Linked DNA regions of Homo sapiens: region 2 is linked to region 1. Evidence: promoter capture Hi-C in 16 types of primary human blood cells and fetal thymus (Javierre and others, 2016). All regions are on one chromosome and are shown on one strand. Each heading gives the region's core, a stretch centred on a gene start or on the middle of the fragment in contact. The rest is flanking DNA. Distances are from core to core; before and after follow the strand shown. Region 1 holds the start of LINC03040 (long intergenic non-protein coding RNA 3040). Region 2 has its middle 7.1 kb from the start of VEGFA.

What was found. Contacts are between HindIII fragments. The CHiCAGO score rates a contact against its expected background, and 5 or more counts as called.
Region 2: a contact is called between a fragment that was not itself captured here and the fragment with the promoter of LINC03040 in region 1, in 6 of 17 cell types (monocytes, erythroblasts, endothelial precursors and 3 more). The highest score is 12.2, in monocytes.

What each region holds. Positions count from the first base shown.
Region 1 is chr6:43,998,770-44,003,169 of GRCh38, reverse strand. It overlaps LINC03040 (long intergenic non-protein coding RNA 3040), which reads right to left and starts at 2,585. Exons shown (of 3, transcript NR_160956.1): 1 at 2,470-2,585; 2 at 1,043-1,117; 3 at 1-489. It overlaps SCIRT (stem cell inhibitory RNA transcript), which reads left to right. Exons shown (of 5, transcript NR_125864.1): 2 at 2,054-2,127; 3 at 2,455-2,579; 4 at 3,662-3,952. LOC124901321 (a long non-coding RNA gene) reads right to left here. Exons shown (of 2, transcript XR_007059591.1): 2 at 3,616-4,219. RefSeq lists a silencer at 237-406 and an enhancer at 2,329-2,478. The HindIII fragment of the contact is 11,725 bases long and covers 1-4,271 here.
Region 2 is chr6:43,760,893-43,765,292 of GRCh38, reverse strand. No RefSeq gene overlaps it. Among named protein-coding and RNA genes, the nearest start is that of VEGFA, 7.1 kb to the left of the region's middle. RefSeq lists enhancers at 20-521, 4,007-4,400. The HindIII fragment of the contact is 1,063 bases long and covers 1,446-2,508 here.

The sequences.
Region 1 (4,400 bases), core at 1,336-3,835:
GGAGGGTGGCGAAGGGAGGGTTCCGGGACCGGGGAGCGGCGTCTTAATTACGGCGCGTTGGCCCAGCGCCGCGGAGCGCCGCGGATGACAGCGGCGGTGGGTAATTAGAGCGCATTAGCCGTGCCCCTGCAATCCTGTAATTTCTTCTCGCGCTCGGGGTGTGTTGTAGGAGGCGAAGCGATGCCGGCTTGGCTGAGTCAGACTCTCGGAAGCCCAGGAGGGGACGCAGGGGGCGGCAGAGGCCGCGAAGAAGGGACTCCCGCCGGGGGAGGCGCAGACGCAGTCCTCTAGGAGTCACCTGTCCCGGGCTCCTCGGCGCGCGCGCCCCGTCGGCGGCGGGAGGTGGTGGGAAGGGGGCGTGACCTGCGTCTCCTCCCGCCGCCGCCGCCGCCGCCGCCGCCGCGCGCTCTACCGGCCCGCGAGTCCTCCGCGACATCCGGGCCAGCGTCTGCACCCAGCCACGTGTCCTGCCCCTGGTGCGCAGGTGGACTGGAAAAGAGGAAGGCAAACGCAGTGGCTAGGCGGAGACCTCCCAAATCCCACGTCTCCCCGAGAATCCCCGACGGGCTACAGACCTAGGGCAGCCATAAGAAAAAACGTCAGCTACATCTCGAGGGAGTGGGGTGGAGTGCGGGCGCTTGCTCTAGTCGAGCCCTGACATCGATTCTGCGGGGGCGGGGAGGAGTCGGCGCGGGGCTGGGGCTGGGAGGGGAGTTTATTTATTAGCCAGATTAGCCAGCATTAATGGGGGAGCGGTGGCGGCCGGCGGCAGCAGGGACATAGCTGGCATAGCTGGCATAGCGGCGGGGCCTCCTGCGGCGCGGGGCTCCGCGGCTTCAAAGGGGCTTAAAGAGGCCCTTGGTGGCACTGCCACGGCCCCGCGGGGGAGGGCGTGGGCGCGGGCGGCGGGGGAGAAGGCGGCCATTGTGCACCGAGGGATTAGGGCTCTGGCCTGGAAGGAATTTTAAACTGCCGCGAGCCGGAGCCCCAGGACTCTCCTCCTGCCCCACCCCTGCCCTCCGGAGCACGCTGAGGTGTTTACCTGCTTTCCTATGTCTGGGGTGGAGGGGGTGTCCTCTCTCCTCCCTCAAACTGGAGGCACCTAGGGTTACCAGATCTGGCAAATAAAAACACAAGACTTCCAGTTAAACTGGATACTTTAAATAGTGTAAGTCTGTCCCAAATATTGTATGGGACAGACTTATGCTAAAATATTATTCGTTGTTTATCTGATATTCAATTTAATTGGACGTCTTGTATTTTTTTTCCTGGCAGCCCTTGAGGCATTGAAATCTCTAATCCATGTCTGGAAACAGATTGATGGTTCCCGAAAGTCCAGTGGGTATGCCTCATTTGAGAGATCCCTAAGGGCAGGGTCGTGTCTCTCCCCTTACACTGGGAGTTTCCTGAAGCCCAGATACTGAGTTTCACCCTAAAGAAGGCAGCTCTGAGAGCACTATATGTGTCCCCCGTCAGACTGGGAGCTTCCTGAGGACAGGGGCTAAATTTCACCCATGAGAGTAACGCTTCAAGGTCAGTGTCTGTGACCTGTGACACTGGGGTTTCCTGAGGCATGGTCTGTCCGCTTCCTAGAGGGCAAGTCTCTCTCCTCCCTCACGTCTCACTCTCCCACCCCCACCCCACCCCAGGCTGCTGGAGGCTCCTCCTCCATTAGTGTTGCTTCCTGCCCATAGGGGGTGCTAGGGGCCCAGCGGACTGGCCTACGGATGGATGGGACCTGTTTATTGGGACTCGGGGCTTCAGTCCTTCGGGGTTGATGCACTTGAGAATAATGAGGGTGGGGTCCCCAACCTGTGAGGCTTGCTGAGGCAGTTGAGGGCCAGGTCTACTGGGGCCAGAGGCGGTGGCCAGCATGTGGGAGAAGCTCTGGGTGCTGGGTACCCACTGTTTCTTCCAGGAAGGGACAGTGTGGCCCTTGGTACAGAACATCCTGCCCACCTCCTCTCATAACCATTGAAGCCAAGCCCCAGTCCTCCACCAGCCTCTCCAGACCCCACTGCCTAACCTTTGCTTGTGCTGTTCTTTCTGCCAGAAACACTCTGTCTTCCTGCTTTGAGGACAGCTGAAGTCTTGCCACTTCTTCTGGATGCTCTGACCATCAGTAAGGTGGGCTGCTTGTGCCTGGGGGTCTTCTGGTGAAAAGAGCCCTCCATCTACTCCCTCCTTCCTCAACAACTTTGGCCACAGGGGCCAAAGAGGGGGCCAAGGTGGGGGAGGGGAGAGACAGGAACATTGGGGGAGCATAGGCAGAAGGGGAGTAAGAATAGGAACCTCCTTCCCCCCAACCCATCCCCCTGAAGCCCCTTCACAAGTCCCTTCATCCCCTCAGGGCCTCTGAACTCTTTCTCCTTGAAGCTGAGGGAAGCCCTGGAGAAGCGCTTTCCCACGGTCACAGCCTCAACAAACCCCTGCCCCCTTCTCCTTTGACTGCAGCCACCTCAGTCTCACCCTCCGCAGAATGCAGGCCCACTCCGTTGCTGAAGGGCCTCCTCCTTGGGCCAGGGCGCCTGCTTCTGCCAGTGGCATCATCACCCCACTCCTCAGCCGCCAGTCATCAGGTTGGCAATTAGCTACTTCCTCTCAGCTGCATGAGGCCACCAAACGTCACAGCCCCTCCCCTGGCCTGCCGCGGCGGGAGTGCTGGGGGCTGCCCCTACCCTTTGTAGTCAGTGCCAAGTCCTGGCTCAGTCCCCCTTCCCTACAACCTACTGAGTGCTAGGGTAATGAGCCTCCCATCTAGGGAGCTGAAAGCCTCGCTGCCTTCTCCCCGCTTCAAACCTCCTCCCCCATGTCACCCTATCCCATTGGGTGAGGACACTCCCGCTGCCTGGGTGGGGTGATGCCTGCTCAAGGGCACTAGCAGCCTGGGTGGGGCTTAAGACTCAGGTGTCTCTGTCCCCAGTCACAGGCGGTTTTCACCAGCCCCTTACCTGGGGCCCAGGAGTCTGAACTGAAGATGGTGGCAGTTATTTGGGAAGGGGAGAGAAATGGGGACTCATTCTACAGACCCCCAAACATGCAGGGGGCAGGCCCTTCATGAACACCCACATGGGCTCATTTGCCTGTGTCTAGGCACACACACGGTTACAATCTAGGCAATGTATGCTCCACTGCACTGTACCCACATGTGCCCCAGGTGGGCAAGTAAGCCCACTTGCCCAGATACCTCTCATGCCCACACATCCCTCCTCCAGGTGTGTGCATGCAAACTCACTGACATACAGTACTCAAAAAGGCAGTGAGCTTGCTGCCACACCAAAAACAAAACCGGGACCCTACAGAGGAATCTAGAAGCATGGGAGGGAAGGAGAGACCACCCCAACACTCGCTACCCCACAGACCAGGGAATCTTCCTGGGGAAGGATGGGAGGAAGTCTGCACTTCAGGGATATGTGTGGGGTACGCAGGTGGGCCGTGGTGGAAGCAGTTGTGTTGGAGTCTGGGTTGGGGGTGGAGGATGTGGATTTCCAGAGAGAATTGAAAAATTCCAACACATATAAACAAAGGCATGTGATCTTAGGCAGATCACTTAACTTCTTGGGGGCCCCAGTGACTGCATCTGTAAAATGGGAATAATGAGAACACCATTTAAACTTGGTTGTCAAATTTATTTTATTTTTATTTATTTATTTATTTTTAGAGACACGGTCTGACTTTGTTACCCCGGCTGGAGTGCAGTGGTGCAATCATGGCTCACTGCAGCCTTAACCTCCTGGGCTCAAGTGATCCTCTCGCCAAGGCTAGGATAAGTAGCTAGGACTACAGATGCGCCCCATCACGCCCAGCTAATTTTACAACTTCTGTAGAGATGGAGTGTTGCTGGGTTGCCCAGGCTGGTCTTGAATTCCTGGGCTCAAGCGATCCTCCTGTGTCCGGAATTGGTGGGTTCTTGGTCTCACTGACTTCAAGAATGAAGCCGCGGACCCTCGCGGTGAGTGTTACAGTTCTTAAAGACAGCGTGTCCAGAGTTTGTTCCTTCTGATGTTCAGATGTGTTCAGAGTTTCTTCCTTCTGGTGGGTTCGTGGTCTCGCTGGCTTAGGGGTGAAGCTGCAGACCTTCGCGGTGAGTGTTACAGTTCTTAGGGCGGCGCGTCTGGAGTTGTCTGTTCCTCCCGGTGGGCTCGTAGTCTCGCTGGCTTCAGGAGTGAAGCTGCAGACCTTCGCGGTGAGTGTTACAGCTCATAAAGGCAGCGTGGACCTACAGAGTGAGCAGTAGCAAGATTTATTGCAAAGAGCAAAAGAACAAAGCTTCCACAGCGTGGAAAGGGATCCCAGCGGGTTGCCACTGCGGGCTGGGGCAGCCTGCTTTTATTCTCTTATCTGGCCCCACCCACATCCTGCTGATTGGTAGAGCCCAGTGGTCTGTTTTGACAGGGTGC
Region 2 (4,400 bases), core at 728-3,227, 240 kb after region 1:
TGCCCAGGCTGGTCTCGAACTCCTGACCTCAAGTGATCGGCCCACCTCTGCCTCCCAGAGTGCTGGGATTACAGGCGTGAGCCACCGTGCCTGGCCTTGAGTTGGGTCTTGATGGAAGAGCAGGAGTTTAGCAAACCAAGTGGACTGCGCAAAGAGAACAAGCAAGGGAAGATACCCTGGAAGGTTCTGATGGCTCACACTGAGCCCTCCCAGTACTCCTCTGAGTGATAGAGACTTTGAGGCTAGGCAGGGCAAGGGATTAGGGCGTCTTCAGAAACATTCCCAGCCAAAGCCCACAGAGACAATGCTGCTCCCTCAGGGGGTGAGCTCCACACTGCCTTCCCCGCCCCCCGGGACAGTTTGTCTCTGTCAGAGAATTTAAACAAGCCAACACTAGTGGTAGGTCCAGCTCACACATGGAACACCACTGTTGCTTGCCCCAGGAGTGAGGGGAGGAGAGCAGAGGACACCAGCCTGTGACGAGCACAGGGCCACTCAGCTGGGCCAAGGCATAAAGCAGAAAGATACATTTCCTCCAGCTTTAATCCCTCACTTCATTACCTGGTACCCAGAGCCCTCCTGTCTACCTGTCACAGGCATGTGGCGACTTCGAAACAGCACTGGGCAAAAAAGTCCTGAGTCTGGCTGGGTGTGGTGGCTCACGTCTGTAATCTCAGCACTTTGGGAGGCCGAGATGGGCAGATCACCTGAGGTCAGGAGTTCAAGATCAGCCTGGCCAACATGGTGAAACCCTGTCTCTACTAAAAATACAAAAGTTAGCCAGGCGTGGTTGTGCATGCCTATAGTACCAACTACTTGGGAGGCTGAGGCAGGAGAATCACTTAAACCCAGGAGGCAAGTAAGCCAAGATGGCACCACTGCACTCCAGCCTGGGCGACAAAGCGAGACTCCGTCTAAAAAAAAAAAAAAATTTCCAGAGTCTGTTGCATGCTGTGTGACCTTGGCCGAGTCAGCTCCCCTTGCTGGACCTCAGGCTTCTCCTGGGTAAAGCATGAGGTTCCACTCCCTAAGCTCTGAGGCTCTGTGAGCCTGTAACATCTCCCTCAAACACTCCAGATGAGATGACTGATACCAAATGTCACATCTTCCAGGGCCTGTGTGTTTTAAAAGCCTCTTGGAGAGGGCAGTGCTTAACTCAAAGAAATCTAGCACTAGTGGTGAAATCTGGGGCTCAGCACCAAGTGATGGAAGGGAGAAGCAGTTCTTATGAACCCCTCAAATCCCAGCAGGTAGGGAACCGCTTCCTCTGTTACCTGAGATGCCAGACCTCTGTCCTTTCAGGAAAGACACCAGCTTGATGAACCCTCACTGTGAAAAGCCTCAGCCACCCACCCACTCCCCTTTCTCCACCCCACCACCCCCATAGCGAGTAATGGAAAAAGCCAGACAGGCTGGGTTTGATCTTGGTTCAACACTTCCAAGCTTTGAGACTTGGACAATTCACTTATCTTGTCTGAGCCTCAGTTTCCTCATCTGTAAAATGAGGTTCATGGTTCTTACCTCCCAGGGTTGTAGGGAAATATATGGAAACAGCAAACATCAGCTAAGCTCCTTGCCCAGAGTAGGTATCATATAAATGTTTTTCCCTTCCCTGTCTCCTGTTCCCACCCCCATTCGTGAGCAAACTCTTAGAGAATGCAAACCCACTATCATCTGGCTAAAGTAAAACAGAAACAAATAGGGAAATGGGTTTACCCCACCCCTGGTTAAAAAAAAAGAAAAGCAAGAAATTACATAATGCGTGCCAAAGATGACTAGGGGTTGGGGGATCTGTTGGCTTGGATCCTGCTTTAGTCTTTATTTGAAGCAACTATGTAACTAGGTTGTCACTGAGTTGACTGCAATGTGAGTTCCTTCGGGGAAGTCCCAGGAAAAAAAAGAGGCAGGGACCCAAGGCGCCCCCTACCTCCCAGCAAGAAGGGCCCCTTCCCCCAGCAGCCCCCTGGGCCTGGGCTGGAAGCTGGGGCGATGACCTGGGCCCCCCAGGATGGTTCACAAAGATAAAGCCAGTTAATGATTGGCCCCCTGATTGGCCCCCTGAGAGCTGAGCTAAGCTCCAATTTGTGAATATTTGTAGGGACTACCAGGCACCAGGCTCTATGCTGATTTTACAGGAGGTACAGGGACATCTAGGTAGGGCAGTGGAAAGTACAGGGACTTTGGATTCAAAGTCCCACCATACTCCCTGCTTTCCCAGACCCAGAAGTACAGGGCATGAGGAGTGGGGAGGCCTCCCCTCAGCTTCCAGGATCAGCCTGGCCCAATAGCCTCGAGATATTCAGGGAAGCAGGCAATTAGTCAGAGGATATCCATGTCAGGAGAACATCAGACTGTGCTCCTAGGAGTCTTGAGGGTCCTCAGAGATGGGACAGGTAGCAGGAAGGTGTGGGAGTGGGCAAACACAGTACATGCAGTTTTATCTGCTTCATTTATTGGCCCCTCACTTGGAATTTCATTTGAGGAAAAGTTTCCACTGCTAAAGAAGCTTACTGGCCAGAGGAGCAGAAGGAAGCCCAGAGTTGTCCAAAGCCGGAGCGCTGCATAGAGTCAAGACCTCAACCCAGATCACTCAACTCACAGCCTGGGGCTCTTTCTACCTCCCCAGGCCACTTCATCATTTAATCGGGGCCCAGCACTGAGCCAGGCACCTTTGGGATACACTGGGCTTCTGCCTCTAAGAGCTGACTGGCTGGGTGGGGAGCCAGGCAGTGCCAGAGAGGAGGTGCTAGAACTAGATGCCGCGTGCATAGGAGTGTGTCAGCAGCTGACCCAGGGATCTGTTGTTTGCTCCTCCTTCCCTAGAGGGGCTCAGCACTCCCTTACTCCAGGCAGTGCCCTGCAGAGGCCACAGCTAAACCATTCCCTACTGGGGTCTCCTGGAGAGATGGTCCCGCCTACATCTCCCTGCATGCCAGCCTGCTTATCCAGACCCATCTCCTTCCAGAACACAGCTGGAAGCATCAGGAGAAGTGAGGCAGGGCATGCTCAGAGCTGCTGTGCCTGCTGCCAGCTTCTCCAAGTTCCAGGACCTGGTCGCAGTCAGCTCCAGCTGTGGGGCACAAGGCCCCTGCGGAGCTCAGGATGATGGCCAAAACATTTAACACCTGCTATGGCTCAGGCACAGTTCACATAGAGCTGACGGCGTATGCCAAGCCAGACATAAACCTCAATTTCTGGATGGTGGAGAGGTCCAGGGGACCAAGTAAGGGACTGGGGTGGCCAGAGAGGCACAGGGGGAACTCAAGGACTGGAACAACAGCTATTTACCAATCAATCAGGAGGCGTGCTGGGGTACACCAGGTGAATGTCTGCCCTGCCCCAGTCCGCTCTTGACTCTAGGCTGGAATGTGCAGCTCCCTGCTGAGAATGAGGCCTGTCTGGGTCCCTGGTCTGCACGCCTCCCTACCTCCTCCTCTCTTGGAAAGGCCAGGCCAGGACTCCCCACTAATCTTCATGCATAAGTGTAGCCCACACCCAACATAGCAGGTACCTCACCAGGCCTTCAATTCCAGAGGCCAGGCCTGAGGCGGTGGACTCATGGGACCTAGACACTGTTGAAAACATGGTAGACAAGGCAAGCCCCAGCTCTGGGGTGGAATTCCAACCCCAAGTGTCCAGATCATGGACAGTTATGGGTGAACAGAGCATTTCCTTTTCCCTTCCTTCTCTGTCTTTCCTCAGATGTCTCCATCCCTCCTTGCCTCCTTCTTTCTTGCTCCTTTCTGCCTAGCCCCATTGTCCCGGGGCCCTCCTGGGTCAGTCCCATTGACTAAGTGCTCCTCTGTGAGCTTAGCTACTCTGTCCTCAGCTTTCTGGAGCCCCCTGGGAAGGTGACTGCTCCCCACTTCCCATTCACTGTCGGGGAGCAAGCCTGGGCAGTGGGGAACAAGCTAGGAGGAAAGATGCTCTTCACATCCCCTCAGTTCCTTCTAGCCCTCCAAGAACTAGGAAGAACCTGCAAAAAGGGCATTTCTGTGGCTATGGGACATACTCCTGCCTGTCGGGATGCCAGGAGAGTTGGTACAGCAACTCCAGAGAGAGCAACAAATACAGTGCGGAGCACCAAGCCCCCTCCATAAGACCCTGGCATGACCAGAGGTCTTAAGGAGGACAGAGGGAGGCACGGTGAATCTGCCCTTCACCAACTCTGACCGTAGCCCTGCGGTGGCATCTCCTCCCCCACTGCATTTCCCTCCCGTCACTCATCCACCAACCCCCTGCCTCTCCATGCCTCCTCAGCTTTCCAGGCTGAAGGCTGCAGGGACTACTAAACCACACATACACACACACAAACAAACCCCGTCTACCACCACCACCCACGACAGGGCCCCATAGAGAAGAGAGAAGTGTTTCCAGAAACCCAGCTGTTCCAGGCAAGC